3 separate regions of the Homo sapiens genome follow, and regions 1 and 3 are each linked to region 2. Evidence: promoter capture Hi-C in human tissues and cell types (Jung and others, 2019). All regions are on one chromosome and are shown on one strand. The core of a region is centred on a gene start or on the middle of the fragment in contact, and the rest is flanking DNA. Distances in the headings are between cores, read along the strand shown. Region 1 overlaps TRAPPC9 (trafficking protein particle complex subunit 9). Region 2 holds the start of KCNK9 (potassium two pore domain channel subfamily K member 9). Region 3 overlaps TRAPPC9 (trafficking protein particle complex subunit 9).

Region 1 (3,859 bases), core at 267-2,766, 130 kb after region 2:
ACTGAGAGACAGAGCTGGCTTTCTGAGGAAGGGGGGCGGGCACAGCTGCAAGGCACGGGGGACCCCTCCACCGCCAGCAGGCAGGCGGAACGTGGCGTCTGGCGAATGGCAGGGAAGCCGCCCTCCATGACGCTGAGTCCTCAGGACCAGTGCACTAGTGGGGACGTTGTCGCCCCATCTCACAGCTGAGGGAGTTGAAGCCAGAGAGTGTGGCTTATCCATGGTCTACCAGGAGTACAGGCAGAGTAGCCTGAACTTGGAGTCCTGCCTGGCAGGCTGCAAAGCTCTTGGTATTTCCATCCCTCCTTGCCATGTCCAAGTTCACGAGAGGGATCTCACACCCGAGAGATACAGGCACTGTCATCATCAGGCGCATTTCAGGATGTAAACCGCAGCTCAGAAAACAAGTCATTTGCCCCAGTAGCGGGGCTGTTGCTGGGAGCCAGCTCTCCCAGGTTCTGAGTCCAATGTTTTCCCCACCACCCCGTGGCAGTCATTAAATAGGCGATTTCTATCCCACCTGTTGAGGATTTATTTCATGCCGGTGCTGACTCGCCTGGACAGGGAAGCCCAGATGCCAAAGGTGAAGATTTCAAAGGTGAAAGTGCCCCCCATGGAGTGGGCATCAGACTCGTTGGCAGGTTTCTGTTGACTGGGTTTTCGCTGTTAATGAATGCGACCTTGGGTGAATCACCTCTCCTCTTGGAGCCTTGGACTAGAGCACTGGTTTTTAAATAGGGGAGTTGGAGGCAATAGGGGTGAAAGCACCCTCAAATCCTCCCCCATCTGACCAGCTCCTCTGACCTCCTCACCCACTTCGAGCAGAACAGAGATGCTTTTTATGTGTTTTACATACTGCGTTGTGCACACATTGCCTTTGATTAATAAATTTCTGAAGTCACTGAGCCAAGGAACCTGGCAGGTCCTCCGGGGCTCCGCTGCTCTGCGACTCTGCAGCAAGCATCCTCGCCGCCGTCCAGCCTTCCCTCCTGCGCCCCATTGTGTCACTGTGATGGCGCGCACGTTCGCCCGTGCTGTGCGTGGATGCACGGATGGATGTCTAATATCTATTCATCTAGGTATCTATTTTTGTATCCACGAGACATCCTCACTAATAAACCTGGGGACAGTGGGGAAAGCAGCAAGAAAGGCCAATCAGTGCTGCTGCTGTAAAGCGATCAAGTCCCAAAGGACAGCAGACAAGAGACACTGCTGCCAAATCTGCTTTCTTTAATTAAGGCGGAGATTGATAAGAGCTGTCAGAGTGAAATGAAGAGACTCCAGGCCTCACTGCTTTGCCAAGACATGAGAGGGAAAGCTGAAGATTAAAAAACAAAAAAAAAAAAAGCTTCCCTAGAAAGCCCACAGAATCCGTTACAAAAAGGATGAGGCTCCGAGGACGGCAGAGAGTGCAAGAATCACCACCCCAATCAGCAGTGGAGGATGTGGCCTGAGCTTGCCAGCTGTTTGGACAGGTTATATATATCTATATCTACCTACCCATCTATCTATCATAAATGCTATTTTCCACCAAGGAAAGCTGGGTGTAGCACAAAGGGAAGCATTTATTTATTTATTTATTTTTTTTGAGACAGAGTCTCACTCCGTCGCCCAGGCTGGAGCGCAGTGGTACCATTTCAGCGCAGCGCAGCCTCCACTTCCCAGGTTCAGGTGATTCTCCCTCCTCAGCCTCCTGAGTAGCTGGAATTACAGGCACCCACCGCCACACCTGGCTAATTTTTATATTTTTAGTAGAGACGGGGTTTCATCACGTTGGCCAAGCTGGTCTCGAATTCCTGACCTCAGGTGATCCACCCACCTTGGCCTCCCAAAGTGCTGGGTTACAGGCGTGAGCCACCACACCCCAGTAAAGGGAAGCAGTTCTGAAAGAAGAACCAGCTCTCCATCTCAGACCCCGGAGCGGGACCGATCCTGGTTCTGACCCTGCGCCCGGCACTCGATGTGTGTGTTTCCTGCAATTCTCCCCAGGGGCAAGTGCATGGGAAGCCGCTGGGGGGACCTGGAGGAGAAAGAGCTTCCATGAGCAAGCTCAAGGTTCGGGAGGGAGGTAGGGCCCAGCCCAGGCCTGCATGAAGCCCAACTGCTCCCCTGCAGCAATGCAGATGCTGCCGCCACACGGGGCAACTGAGGGAGACTGAAAACTCACACGATTCATCCCAAGTCCAAAAAGAACTGAAGAGAGATGGGCGTGGCTTCCCGAGAGTCATTTGGGACATTCTGTGGAATTCCCAGGAGCAGACACCAAGGCTCCACAAAATCTCAGCATGCATGCAATTAGTCATGGGAAGAAACAGTGCTCTTTCAGGAGGATGCTTCTAATTGGAGATACTTCATTCTGTAAGCTAAAAAATAGGATCTTTATAAACCCTCGATGTTTGCCATCATTGCCAGAAACAATGAGATACGATGGTACCCCATCACCTCCAGGGAGGTCAGAAAGGCTTGATGTGAACGGCTCCTTCTGTCTCTGTGGGTTTGTCGTTGTTGTTGTTAAAAAAGGAAATGACAAGGAGGACTTGGGGCCTAGCGATCTGGGTTCAAGTCCTGCTTGCTTGTGAGACCTGGAACAAGGAACAGGACCTGTACAGGTGACAGTTAGGTTTTAATAGTCTATGCACCGGTGGTGTTAGTTCAGGGAACAAACCAGGAAGTGAACAGAGAAACCCTCGGTAAACTTCAAAGCTCAAGATAATACATCTGCAAAGCCTAGAAAGGCTGGACTACGGTTCTTACCATCACCGTGACACACATGCAAGAGCCCTCCTGCTGCCGCTGTTCACGCCAGCTGGGGGACGTGCTTCACTCTGTGACACCCTGTCGAGGCAGCACGGTAACCAGAGGCACCACCCCCAGTGCACAGCTGCCACGGGGCAGGGTCTTCCGGCTCCCACCTGACAGCCCACCACAGCCCCCAACGGCACTTCAAAAAGGCCCCTGTCCTCCCATAGCCATCTGTCCAAGGCAAAGCTAGCAACTGGATGGGACCAAAGAGGAACTCTGAGGGGTACTTCTTGCCATGGCAGGAACTCAACAACACGCTCCCCCACCAGCCCCCTGAAGGCTCACGTGCCCAGGGAGGGCCTTGCCTGCACTGCCTCGGTCTGCTCTCACTGGGTGGCCTCGCAGAGACCCATGGAGTGGGACTGGCCCCCTGAAGGCAGGCCTGTCTCCAGCCCAAGGCGTTTCTGAGCTGCTGAGTCCTAGCTCTGTCCACGCACATCTTTGGCACACCCACGTGGCTGTCCCCTGCCATTTCCCCACACCCCTGGTCTCTCGTCCTTCCAGGCACCCAACCCAGATGCCAGGAGCCCCTCGGCCCTCCTCTGTGCTCCCCGCTTCTCACTTGCCACCGAGATTCTCCTTCCAGAGTCCATCCAGTCGGCCCATGTCTGTCTGTCCACAGGGCTGGCATGGCAGTTCAGGCCAGCAGGAGCTCCTGGCCCGGTGGCTACACTGTCTTCTCACAGCTCGCCCATCTCTAACCATGTTGTCCCCTCTTCTGGCCCAGGCTGCAGGCTCCTTCCACACTGCACATCTGATCACACCACCCAAAGCCTTCGACGCCCCTGCTTCCAGGACAGAGTCTAAAGGGCTCGCTGCACCCACAGGCCTCCACACCAGGACTCTTCTCTCTCTTTGTGGAATTCTCCCAGTTCCCCACAGCCACAGCCCCAAACCCCTGGATGCACCGCTCTCCATCCGTGACTTGCCTCTTCTTGTGACTGGATAGCTCTTCCTCATCCTGCAGGTCTCAGCTGAAACATCTCCTCCTCCAGGAGGCTTCCCCTGCCCCCTGTGCTGGGCACACGCACCTGCCTTTACCTGTTCTCCCACTTGG
Region 2 (3,783 bases), core at 157-2,656:
CCATGCAGGGTATCCACCACGTCCACCCGAATGAAGGTACCTGCCCCAGCTCCCACAGGTCTCCAAGTATAACGTCCGGGAGTCCTCCCAGCCCCCAGCCTTAGAGGGGACACTGCCCTCGGGACCGACCAGAGACCCTGCTCTGTGAATAGCGCCCTTGGCAGTGGGGCTGGCGGGCATCCCTGCAGTTTACCAGCTGGACCCCCTCTCGTGACTGGGGCTCAAGTTCCCTGGTTTCTGGGCAATGTCTAGACTGGCCTTTCCCAGTGTCACAGCCTAGGGAGTGGGCAGGTTCTGCCCTGCCCCCACTCTCCACCTCTACTGAGAGCAATTGAGGGGCTGCCACCCCCAACGCAAGCACCAGAGAGCAAACTCTCTCCTCCCAGGGGCCTGGGAAGTCCAAGCTCCAGAACTGGAACTCAGGGGAAAAAAGGAGCCGGGCGGGGGGAAGAGAGATGAAATCTGAGCTCAGAGAAGCCTGGAGCGGGGCCCAGGGGCTACGGAGGGTCAGTGCCTCTCACGCCCCAGGCGCACTCCCCTGCCACCTGAGTCCCTCTAGGAGCCATGGGTGCCAGGCCAGCCCTCTCCAACTCCCAGAGAGGTAGTAAGTGTAAGGCTCAGAGCCCCGCGCAGCCCAGCCCGCGCCGGGGCGGTGGGTGGGTGGGTGTCTGCTATGGGATTATTCTTAGCGCTCCACTCTCTTCGCAAAAGTGGCGCCTCCGCCCTCCCGGCTCAGGCACACTCGCTCGGGGCTCGCACGCCCGGCCCAGACACCAGCGCGGTGGAGAGCACCGGGTGGGGTCCCCGAAGGGTGAGGCTCGGAGGCGCCGCGGAGGGGGGGCTCCCTAGAGAGGAGGGGGCGCTGCGGGAAGGCCCCCAAGGGAGGCTGCGTTTAACCCTCGACGCCCTGCACCCAGCCCGGCGCGGCGCGCTCAGCCGCCTCCCCGGACTCCTCCCGGGGCGCGGGAGCCCAGCGGCGCGCCCAGCCCTTACCTATGGTGGTGATGACCGTGATCGCAAAGTAGAAGGAGCCGGCGAATTTCCACTGGACGCCGGCGCGGTGCGGTTCCGACTGCAGGATCACCAGCTCCAGCTGCCGGTAGTCCTCGCTGCTGATGTTGTACTTCCCCTTGATCCGGATCTCCTCGGCTTTGAGTTTCTCCTCCTCGCGCATCTCGTGGTCCGACTCGAGGGCGTCGAACACGGCGGCGCCCACCAGCAGGTAGGTGAAGGTGCAGACGATGAGGGACAGAGTCCGCACGTTCTGCCTCTTCATGGCCGCCAGCAAGGAGCCGGCGCGGGGGGCATGTCCCGCAGGCTCACAGCCGCGCGCGTCCCACTGCAGCGCCCGGCGGCCGCCGCCGCCTCCTCCTCCGCCGCCGCCGCCGCCGCCTCCAAGTTGTAAGCGGCGGCGGCAGCAGCAGCAGCAGCAGCGGGGAGGCGGGGGGCGGGGAGGCTGGGGGGGGCCCCCTCCGCTGGGGCCGCCACAGCCACCGCCACCGCGAGGCGGCTGGCGGGGCAGGGGCGGCGCGGGCCCGGGCTCAGCCGAGAAGGCGGACAGGCACAGGAGGCTGCTCGAGCGCCGGGGCCAGGCGTCCGGGAACCCCGACACCCTGCGCCAGACCCGGCCGAAGCAGCCCGCCCCACTGCGCAGGGCCATGCAGGGCGGCCCCGCTGGGTACCGCGCGGGCCTTGCTGCCCTCCGCACCCCGCCCCCCGCTCCCGCGGGAAACGCAGGGACGGGAACCGGAGCCAGAAAGCGGCCGGAGGGCGGCCGCGGGGCCCGGTACCCCTGTGGGTCCAGCTCGCGGGTGGCGGTGCCCAGCAAGGAGCCTGCAGGTCCGCGCGCCCAGCGGAACCTGCTTCCCCTTTTACCCCTCCTCGCCCCCTCTCGGTGGTGGGGAGGAAAAGTTTGCGAAGTGGCGGTGTCTCTGGAGTCCCCTGCAAGCGGGGAGGGGGCCGAGCAGGTGCAGCGGGAGGGGCAGCCCGCTCCCCAAAGGTCCGCGCGCCCAGCGCCCACCCGGGCGCGCGGGTGCGCAGCGGGGTCCCCGCCGGGCGTCGGCCGGTGCGCGAAGTTTGCTCGGCTCAACCCCCAAGGCGCGGGAGCGGGGCGCGGCCCCAGGACGGCAGGGACCGCGATGGAGCGGCTTCGGGGGCGGCCGGGGGACGGCGCGGTGGCGGTCGGCCAGCCCGCTCCTCCGGGGGCGGCGGGCGCGGCGGCGGCGGCGGGAGGGGTCCCGCGGGCCTCGCGGAGCAGCGGGGCGGACGCGGGCGCATGAGCCGCGCGGGGGTCGGGGCCCTCCGGCGTCCGGGCGTCCCGGGAGGCGGCCGCCGCGCTGGTCTGCCCCGGGCGCTACGTGCGTGCGCGCCGTTGGGAGCCCGAATGTGTGTGTGCGCGTGTGTATGTGCGTGTGTGTGTGTGTGTGTGTGTGCGCTTGGCAGCCCCGCTCCGGCGGGAGGGCCTCGGGGAGCGGGGGCCGGGCTACGCCGAGGCCGGGCCTCCCTCCCTCCCTCCCTCCCGCAGCCTCCAGGGCGCGCCACCTCCCGCCTGGTCCCCAGCCAGCTGGCGAGGCTGCTGTGGCAGCTCCCGCTGCAGACCCAGCGCGGCGCAGGGCGCACGCGGAGGGAGCCCGGGAGGGGCGGCCTGAGCCGCCAGGGAGGGGGCGGGGGCGGAGCCGCCGGCGGGTTTTGGCGGGGGATGGGAGGATAAACGCGGCTTCTTGGGTCCTTCTAGCCCCGCTCCCCAAGAGCGCAAGCAGCCCTGGCGGGTGGAGAGTTTGAGGGACTCGGGGTTGGAGGAGGAAAACGGGATTCAGCCAGAGATGGCAGGCTGACAGCTTCAGGCAGATTGGGCAGAGAGTGGGGAGCAGAAGGGGAGGGGGCCATGGGCACACAGGAGAGCGGCAGCAGCGGTTCACGAAGTCTTCCCCACCCCCCACCCCCCACCTAGCCACCCGGCGCGGGAGCGTGTCATTGGCCAGGGACATGGCCTCGTGGAGTGGTGGGGTCCCGAGGGCTGCCTCGGCCCCCTCGCCTCCCAGCGGCACAGCCCGCTTGGGCCAGCACCTGCAGACCCGAGTCGTTTCCCTGGAGAGCGCTAAGGACAGCATGGGCCGCCACTTTTGGAGTCAGGACAGCGGGGAAAGACATCGCAATCCCCCGACCCAGTAACCTCTCTGTTGCTTTACTGAAGGAAAAAAAAAAAATACACACACACACACACACACACACACACACACACACACACACACATATATATATATATATATATATATATAATCACTCTTTGATATATATAATCACTCTTTGGTTCCCCACAGCTGGGCGCAAGGTGCGCCGTGGATGCAGCCCTGAGCCACGCGATAGCCCCCTCGAGACCACCTGGGGTAGGAACACGAGGCTCGGGCTGGGGCGCACCTATTCCCTGCTTCCAGATGAGCCCTCTCCAGGCTTTATCTCCTTCCCATTTTGGCCTCCTTTACCTCCTCCCCCTCCCCGCCCTCTCCCTTTAGGCTATCGAGGGGCTTTTCCTTGACCTTCGGCTTCCTGAATCCCGCCTGGAGCCCTGGAGCTCCAAAAGGACAGACCCAAGCCTCAGAGACCCCTGGGCTCCTCTTCCTCTCCTGACCCCAGCCAAGGAAGGGATGGAGATGGGAAAGAGTTGCCTGGCGGCAGGCTAGCAGCTGGCCAAGGGGTGGCTGGGGAATCAGACCTAACCCTCGGGCAGCTCGCGGGCTCCAGGAGACCAGTCCCTTCTGTGGGTCGCCCCCTGGAGCGGTGCTC
Region 3 (3,396 bases), core at 592-3,091, 250 kb after region 2:
GAGGCAGAGTTGCAGTGAGCCGAGATCGTGCCACTGCACTCCAGCCTGGGTGACAGAGCAAGACTCTGTCTCAAAAAAAATGTGTAGAAGTAAACATTAAAGGAAAAAATTTCCTAGAAAAGACATAGAAGACATGACTCCAAACTGATAATTGGACTTCATCAAAATTAAAAACTTCTCTGAGTGACGCTTGAAAAGATAAACTAGATTGAAAGTAAATACTTGCAAATCATAAATCTGATTAACAGCCTGTATCTAGAGTATGTGACGATCTCAAAATGCAAGAGTGACAAAACAAACAGCCCAACTTTATTTAAATAAAGGGCCTGAACACATACTTCACCAACAAAATCTACAGACGGCAAGCAGACATATAAAAATGCTTCATATGATAAAAATATATCACTATATACAATGATATCTACTCATGATCAGGGAAATTCAAATTAAAACCATAATGATATGCCACTACACATCTGTTAGAATGGCTAAAATGAAAAAGACTGACCACATCCAATGCTGCAGACGATGTAGAGAACCACTGATACACTGAACAGTGTGGACAGACCTCAAAATAATTATCCTGAGTGAAAGAAGCCAGATCAAAGAGGAATAGTACTGTATGATCCATCCCCATATTAATAGAACTCTAGAAAGTGCAAAGTTATCTGCAGCGACAGGGAGTAGATTGGATTGGTGGTTACCTGGGGACTGCGCCAGGGGTAGGGAGCGATGATGAGGGCACAGGGAAGCTTTTGGGGGTGATGAATATGCTCACTGTCCAGATTGTAGCAATGGTTTCTTGGGTGTAAACAGATGCCCCAAATGATCACAGTGTACACTTCCGTATGTGTAGTTTTTAGTATGTCAATTTTACCTCAAAAAAGCAGTTGTGATGGACTGAGTGACTGCGTCCCCCAGTAATTCATATGTTGTACGCTTCCCCTCAAAGTGACGGTATTAGGAGGTAAAGCCTTTAGGAGGTAACTATGGTTACGTGTGATCATAAGGGTGGGCCCTCAGGATTGGATTAGTGTCCTTATAAGAAGAGATGCCAGACAGCTTGCCTCTAGACCTGTGAGAAATAACTGTATGCAGTTTAAGCCACCCACCCAGTCTGTGGTACTTTGTTACGGCAGCCCCAGCAGACCAAGCTTTTAAAAATCAATATAAGCATATTCTAAATCATCTAAATGGCCATTTGTAAGAAGAAGCTGCGAGGTAATCTCAGGACCTGTGTTTGCGTTTGTGTCTTTGGCTGCTTGTGCAAGTGTTATTACCTTCACTGCCACCAGCTAACAATAAGGAACAAAGGTAGAGGTGCTCACGCCACTTGACACTCAAGTGACATCACAGCGTGTCAGTGAAGATTTGCCCTGGTTTGAATAAAGGCCAATGTTGAGAATACAGATCCACTCCATTGTATACACAGGCATGTTAAAATAAAAGGAGCCAGCTCTGCAGCTGTCCATATACGTTCACAATTCTACTGGCAATTTAGTTGTACCAAAACATCTCATCAAGTTAATCTGGTAATTTTATTTGTATTGGTCTTACAATTTGGCATGTATATAATTTGGAAAAGCGGTTTCACAGATTTAAGTATTATAAGCATAAGGATTCTGTATTTAATTTTATGTTGATGCATATTTAATGTTTTTATTATAGTACTGGTTACATAAATGGTAGGGATCAAGCACATTTTTTCTTGTGAAAGGGGTCGGATTTCAAAGCCTCTGCCACCAGCTGCACCAGCCATCGGCACCATCTGACCACCTCCTACCCTCACCTCCCCGTTTCTGGTAACAGTGATGAAGGAATGATCAGGGCCAGAAGGGATCCTGTAGGAGCCTCATGTAGGTCTTGTTCACTGGGTTCTTGAGGTTCAGTTCAGGAGCCTGATCATCTCCGTGTGGGTTCTTTGCATGCTGTGACACACAGCACCAGCCGCACACACTGCAAAAAAACCCTGGACGGACCCAGGGGCTCCTCCGAGATGGATCCAAGAGCAAACTTGGTTTCAAGCGCCCACGTTCAGCATCAACACGTGAAGCAAATACAACATTAAACAGCTCCTACTTATCAAAACTGAGAAAGGCTCCAACCCCACTGATGCAAATGCTCTAAGACAGGAAGGGATTTAGGCTCCCTCCCAGGCAGCCAGTCCAGAAACAGGCAATGCAGGATTCCTCGAGAACTGCACAATTGGAAGGAGATGAAAAGTATCTAACTGGAAAACAACAACAACAGCAAAAGTGGGAATGTGGGTCAGGACTACTGGAAATAGGAAATCCACCTTTTTCAGCCAGCTACCGACCAGACTCACCCCCAGTCTGAGTTTCCTGTTCGTGAGGGCTGTGCTAACATTCTGTGTCCACTAACGTCGAGGAATCCTCAAATAGGTCCCAGGGGCTTCTTTCCAAGAGAAACTGAAAGCTCTGCAGCGCTTCTGTGATGCCTGGTGTGGTCTGCCTTGCTGCCATCCAGCATGACTGCCCCAGTGCCCCGCCCTCCCTCATGCTCAACTATGGATGCATCTTGGCCCTCAAGACTGTGTCTGGGTCCTCGTTTCTCCCGCCGTGTGGCTGGAAGGGAGGCAGCTGGTTAGCACGCGGAGACCTGACGAGAGTGTGGCTGTGCCTAGAACCAGCTCCGATGCTCCTCGTTCGAAACACCCACCCCTGTGTGCACAGCACCTTGTTCTTTCGTGCATTTCACCCTACATGGGATGTTGTTTCGTTTTTTTTTTTCTTTTATTTTGAGATGGAGTCTCACACTGTCGCCTGGGCTGGAGTGCAGTGGTGTGATCTCGGCTCACTGCAACCTCTGCCCCCCGGATTCAAGCAATTCTCCTGACTCAGCCTCCTGAGTAGCTGGGATTACAGGCACCCACCACCACGCCCAGATAATTTTTTGTATTTTTAGTAGAGACGGGGTTTCACTATGTTTGCCACGCTGGTCTCAAACTCTTGACCTTGTGATCCGCCCACCTCAACCTCCCAAAGTGCTGGGATTACAGGCGTGAGCCACCGCGCCCGGCCCATGGGATGTTGTTTCTGAGGCATGTGTCTCCATCAGCTGCCAGCATAGCGTCTCCTTGATGTTGGGCCTACGCCTGACCTATTTCTCCACCCTCCACCACGGTGTCTCGTACATGGCAAATGCCTCCTAGGAATTGTTTCCAATCAGGACAGGCCCTTCTGATTGACAAGAAACAAAGACCTGTGTGCCTGGAACAGCACTGCTCAGCTCAGCAGAGCCTGGCGCCTGTGGATGCAGAGGGGAAGCACTGGCCAGACTGCTTCCATCCCGGCTCCGCGTAGACTCGTTGTGCCACCCCGGGCAGGTCCTATGCCTCCTACTCCCCTATCCCTACAGAGTGGCCTCCCACACCCT

What was found. Contacts are between HindIII fragments. The study calls those that stand out against the background at their distance.
Region 1: a fragment that was not itself captured here is called in contact with the fragment with the promoter of KCNK9 in region 2 in 3 of the 25 tissues and cell types used here (IMR-90 fibroblasts, dorsolateral prefrontal cortex and mesendoderm cells).
Region 3: a fragment that was not itself captured here is called in contact with the fragment with the promoter of KCNK9 in region 2 in 3 of the 25 tissues and cell types used here (adrenal gland, bladder and spleen).

What each region holds. Positions count from the first base shown.
Region 1 is chr8:139,834,439-139,838,297 of GRCh38, forward strand. The region is part of intron 21 of TRAPPC9 (trafficking protein particle complex subunit 9); the gene reads right to left. Among named protein-coding and RNA genes, the nearest start is that of C8orf17, 95 kb to the right of the region's middle. RefSeq lists an enhancer at 3,625-3,859. The HindIII fragment of the contact is 8,586 bases long and covers 1-3,859 here.
Region 2 is chr8:139,701,717-139,705,499 of GRCh38, forward strand. KCNK9 (potassium two pore domain channel subfamily K member 9) reads right to left here and starts at 1,407. Exons shown (of 2, transcript NM_001282534.2): 1 at 994-1,407. The coding sequence starts at 1,276. RefSeq lists a silencer at 1,130-1,424. The HindIII fragment of the contact is 18,854 bases long and covers 1-3,783 here.
Region 3 is chr8:139,953,420-139,956,815 of GRCh38, forward strand. All of the region lies in intron 19 of TRAPPC9 (trafficking protein particle complex subunit 9), which reads right to left. Among named protein-coding and RNA genes, the nearest start is that of C8orf17, 24 kb to the left of the region's middle. RefSeq lists a silencer at 1-11. The HindIII fragment of the contact is 4,280 bases long and covers 1-3,396 here.